2 separate regions of the Homo sapiens genome follow, and region 2 is linked to region 1. The links are contacts of gene promoters, found by promoter capture Hi-C in human tissues and cell types (Jung and others, 2019). All regions are on one chromosome and are shown on one strand. The core of a region is centred on a gene start or on the middle of the fragment in contact, and the rest is flanking DNA. Distances in the headings are between cores, read along the strand shown.

The links. Contacts are between HindIII fragments. The study calls those that stand out against the background at their distance.
Region 2: a contact is called between the fragment with the promoter of FAM124A here and a fragment that was not itself captured in region 1, in 1 of the 25 tissues and cell types used here (dorsolateral prefrontal cortex).

What each region holds. Positions count from the first base shown.
Region 1 is chr13:51,596,103-51,598,743 of GRCh38, forward strand. All of the region lies in intron 1 of WDFY2 (WD repeat and FYVE domain containing 2), which reads left to right. It also overlaps the pseudogene ATP5PBP1. Among named protein-coding and RNA genes, the nearest start is that of WDFY2, 13 kb to the left of the region's middle. The HindIII fragment of the contact is 4,599 bases long and covers 1-2,641 here.
Region 2 is chr13:51,221,084-51,223,724 of GRCh38, forward strand. It overlaps FAM124A (family with sequence similarity 124 member A), which reads left to right and starts at 1,315. Exons shown (of 4, transcript NM_001242312.2): 1 at 1,315-1,486. The coding sequence starts at 1,419. RefSeq lists an enhancer at 463-1,253 and silencers at 1,034-1,083, 1,204-1,263. The HindIII fragment of the contact is 11,319 bases long and covers 1-2,641 here.

The sequences.
Region 1 (2,641 bases), core at 51-2,550:
GGGGGAGAAGGAGTGTTGGAATGGCTAATTCATTTCATTATATTTCGATTTGGGGGATATTTTTGAATTTATATTTGAATAATTAATTCTCTTTACATGTCAGAGCTTAGATTGTTAAACAGTTTTGAAAGATGAGTAATTTTTATCTAGAAAATAAAATTAAATTAAGGAGGTTAATCTGCATGCATAGTTAGCTGAATTGGCATGCTGTTTGAATGGATTAAATTGGTTTGGAGTTTGGTTGCAGTGTGACTTTTCTGACTTATTTTTCTTATTGAGCTTCCATTTGGGAAATTTCTGTCACATCAGATATGCAAAATATAAATCTTTGAGTTCGATGTGGATAGGATAGGGCAAAGTTTGAGAAAGTAAAGTTCACCGAATCCTAAAAGGTTCTGTCAACCTTAAATAATGAGATTCAGAAAATATGATTTAAATACAGTTTGAGTGCAAAGCTTGAGGATGATCACCTGGAAACACTGACTCCAAGTGAATGGGCTCAGTGTTCCAAAGTGAAGTTAAGGTTTCACTTACATGGGTAGAGACAGAGAAGTTCCAGCAAGATTGCATTGTTCATATAAGACCAGAACATACACCACAACGATTTGATTGGTTACAGATTGCTACATTCCAGGGAAGATTCCTTACTCCATGAGAAGGGACAAGGATCTGAGGGGGTCTTATCTCTGGTGCTGCTTGGCCTTTTAATTATTTACAGGAAAAAAGGCAGAAGTTGCAGCTGTACACCACGTGACTTGGGCTGTGTAGCCATATTCCTCTCAAGGCTCAGAATAAGTTAAAATTCCAATAGCTTTAAGTTGGAATTATTTTAAGTTTGAACAATTTAATTTCACAGTTCAGTGTAGTATACGGAGAAGAAGCGGTCCAGAAAAGTTCTCTTGAGGCTCTGGGGGCATGTGTGGGCTTGTCTACAGGTAGATTATATTTCTCCAGTGTGTGGTCCTCCTCCCACCTCACTTTAATTTTTTGTTTTCTTTTTAAAAATGTTCTACTTTACTCTTTAATAATTTCTCATTATTGAATTAGTGGAAGTATAGATCATTGTCAGAATTGAACCCAGAAGAACTGTATACTATATACCAAGTTGTTGCTTTATTGATAAGTGAACAAACGGTTGAGTTCTTGAGATTACTGTGTTGAGATTTCCAGTGCTCATAGGCACTTTTCTAAGGGTCTTTGGCTATAATTGAAGTTCTTATATTTTGGTCATAAGAACTTCATTGATGTCCTTACCATTATATAATTACTGGGAAACTACATTCTTAAGCCTGAAGGACTGAACTTGAACTTGAAAACTTTTGAAGCAATGAACTGTTTTCACATTGCACAAGTAAGTTTGTCCTTTGAGGGATGCTGCTATAGTCACTATTTTCAGGACCCGACATTGCTTATTTCTGCTTTTTCAAAACTTTTGCTTAAAAAGTTTATCTGTCTGTTGCTTTTGTTGCCTAGTAGTTCATGCTTATGTATGTGGAAAAGTGAGGTTAATGATGGCAAAAAATCCTGGATGGATTTGCAGAGAGAATGGGATCAAAATGGCAGAAACATTTAGTTACTTGAAATGGAGTTTAGCTAGGAGATTGCAACAATTTGAAATAAAATAATCATAGTACAAAAGAAGTAAGGTTTTAAAAATGTTACTTATTTGGTAGTTTGTTTCCCTTGAAGAAATTCTGAATATTTGAATGAAAAACAGCAGGTAGAAATAGATACTAGCATTTACATTTACAAAATAATCAACCTTGGTGGTTTTTAGTTGATGGTACATGTATATGCAAAATTCAGAAGGCTATGATGAGTGAAGTCTCCCTCCCACTCATGGGTTTTAAGATTTTGTGAAAGGAAAACTGATAGGATTTCCACAAGGTCTAATATATATGCCCTGATATGGATCTCAGTGGGCATTTCTGCTTCAGCTGTGTTAAACTTTTCCCTTATAAAACTGCTTTGGCAGGGGCAGGTGTGGTGGCTCACGCCTGTAATCCCAGCACTTTGGGAGGCTGAGGTGGGCAGATCACCTGAGTTCAGGAGTTCGAGACCAGCCCGGCCAACATGGTGAAACCCTGTCTCTACTAAAAATACAAAAATTAGCTGGGTGTAGTGGCGGGCACCTGTAATCCCAGCTACTCGGGGGCTGGGGCAGGAGAGTTGCTTGAACCCAGGAGGTGGAGGTTGCAGTGAGCCGAGATTGCGCCACTGCACTCAAGCCTGGACAACAGAGCGAGACTCTGTCTCAAAAAAAGATAAAAATACAAATAAATAAAACTGCTTTGGGAGGTCAGGGTCACAGGGATGCTAAGATTGCTGCCTTGTTACTTTTCTGCTTACGCCACAGTGGACCCCTCTCTGAAAAACACAGCCCTCCTAGGTGCAGGGGGCATGCAACAAGGATCTTTCACACAGGGCAGCCAAGTCTTACCCCTCTACCTTCTCTTCCTGAATATGGAGAAAAGTTCTTGGCCTGATCCCTAAGGAATTCCTCATTTCTTTATCCTAAAATCACTGTAATAGGACTATGTGTACTCGGAAATGGGTTTATCTTGTATTCTCTATCCAAAGAAATATATATGGTTATGCCGGAGAATTTTGCTACTATATCAATGGTAGGGTTACTTGTCTA
Region 2 (2,641 bases), core at 65-2,564, 380 kb before region 1:
TCCCTGGCCTTTTCCTTAGTACCATCTTCCTGAGGATACAACTGGCCCACTCATCAGCCTTCTAGGTAAGTGGCACAGGCTCCAGCTACCTTAAGTGGACTACCTGGCTTCCCTGCTCACTGATAGGGTGTCCTGGGACCAGGCACTCGAACTCGGTAGGGTTTAGTTTCCTTGACGGTAAAATAGAAAAGTAAGCCTGTTTCACAGCACTTCCCTGAGGATCAAATGAGGCACAGTTTGAATTGTTCCCACACAGAGTAAATAAAGGCAGGTTCCCTCCTGGCTGCAAGATAAAAAATGGGCAGGGGAATCTCCCTTGAAGAACTGGCACGCTCCTTTCTTTCAGCTAATGCCCACCAATATGTCCATTGCTGTTTGGGGTGCAAGAAATTTTAGGCTCAGTAAGGACAATTCCTCCCAATGGTTTGGATAGGGCTGTCAGAACTAAATTCAAGTTGTTCGAAGTCTCCTTCCGCCCGCCCTGCCAACTTGCCTCCCTCTTCACCCTCCTAATAGGAGGTGAGCCCCTCCAATAGCGATCATTAACTCACCCTAAGGTTATCCCCTTGCTGCAACAACCCGTGAATTGCAGGTTCATTCAATGCTCTTTAAATTATTTTTAAAGGCTTTTTTTTTTTTAAGTAGCAAAAGAATGCATGACACCTATTGTAAACTGGCAAGTTGAGGGGGTGGGATGCCGCTCAGACGTGTACTGAGAAAGGTGATAATGAATTTGGCGTCAGCAATTCTTCAGAAACTATAAGAAAACACCCAGGTGTTCGAATTGGTCCCAAAAGGGAAACAAATCCTTCCCAGCTTTCACGATGCGCTGAGGTTGGTTTTCTCAGTGCTCCTCCCAGATCAGGAGGTGGGGAACCTCGTGGCAAGCCCTGGGGCTCGGGATTCCCGGACTGTGGGCCTGGGGGAGAGAGGCGGCTCTCGTGTGCACACTTACCCCGCCCCCACAACACACACGCGGTCACGCACCACAGACGGGCACACGCGCTCAGCACAGCCACAGTCGCGTGCAACCAGGAGTGCACACCGCACCCACATCACACCGCATGCACAGACGCACGGGTGTGAGACCACACACCTCGGCCACTCACGCTCACACGCCCCCCACGCGCTCGCACACGCGCTCGCACGCGCACTCCCCGCGCACCGCCGCGCGCACACGCGGGTCCCGCCGGACGGCGAGGGGCGGGGCGGGCGCGGGCGCAGGCGCGGGTGCCCAGCCGGGCGCGGTCGGGAGAGGGCGCGGCGCGGGGTTCGCGGCTGGCGCTTGAGTTGTTTGCCGGCTCCCGGGCCGCCAGACGCTCGGAGGGAGCCCGGCCGGCTCGGACTGGGCGGCCGGGAGGGAGGGCGCCCCGGGTCACGACGGCGCCCGCAAGCCGAGCGCGGCCGGGACGTGCACCATGGACCCAAAGGCGGGCGGCGGCGGCGAGGAGGACGACTGCGTGGACTCGGGCGCCGAGACCGGAGGGTGAGCCGCGCCGGGCCGGGCCGCGGGCGGGGGGCGCTCTCCGAGTTGCGCGGCGGCTCCTCCCCGGACGGGGACCCTCCTGATCCGTGCGACGGGACCGGGGCGCGGGGCTTCTCCTCCTGCCGGATCCCCCGCTCTCTCCTGGGCGGGCCGCGCTGCCCTGGGCAGGGCGGGCACCACCCGGGGGGAGGAAAGTGGAAGGACTCAAGGTTCAGTGCAAGCCCACCCATCCTGTGAGGCGATGCAGAGCGCCAGGCGGATGCAAAGACCCCTTGTCTGCATCGCTAGAGACAGGAGATGCTCTTGCACTTGTTTCCTCCTTCCTCGGGGACTTTCCTCCTGTAGCTCCGGAGCCCCCTGGAGTCCGGCCCTGGAGATCGGGAGAGGAAGAAAAGCAGGGTGGGACACCCGCACCTAAAAGTCTTTCCGAAGTCGGCTAGGAGGATGGCATTTCTCGTTATATGGCTTCATCGTGGGACTTTAATCTGTGCTGCCGAGTCCCCCTCCCCGACTCCTCCAGTCCCGCCGAACTTCCTCACCTCTAAGTGCACCTGTCCCAGCTGGACCCTTTGGCCTGTTGTACCGGCGGGATGGAGATGGTGTTGGGATTAGGATCTAGCCCTGCCTTTTTTTTTTTTTAATATTCTCTTCGCTTCAGCGGACTCAAACAATGGGCTCAAACCTTTGGAGACTAATTAGTTAGTCTCCAAACACTGTTTTCCTGAGCGGAAGAAAAGACAAAATGCCTTTTAGGAGATGAATGTCGTTATAAAGGCTTCCAGGCAGCCTCTGTCTCTAAAGGACTTTCCTGTGCAGAGTCAGCACCACATCCAGGCCGCGGGTACTGACCCAGGAGGAAAGGGTGTTTTTTCCTATCTGGAGTAATCCTGGGGGAGGGCGGGAGCTGCCTAGACTACAGAAAGCCTCATTCCTGGAAGGTCGGAGAGGTTTTAGACTAATCTCAGGATTTGGCAACCCTGTGAGGGCAGGTAGAGAATCCAGGCCCACGATCGACCCAGAGTTCTAACCCAACCCCGGCAAAGCTCCCCACAGGGCCCCTCCTGCCCCACCACTCCTAGCCCAAATGCGGGACTTTACTCCCTAGGGCATTCACCCAGCAATGGGCTTTCTCTGTTATCCAAACTTATTCATAGC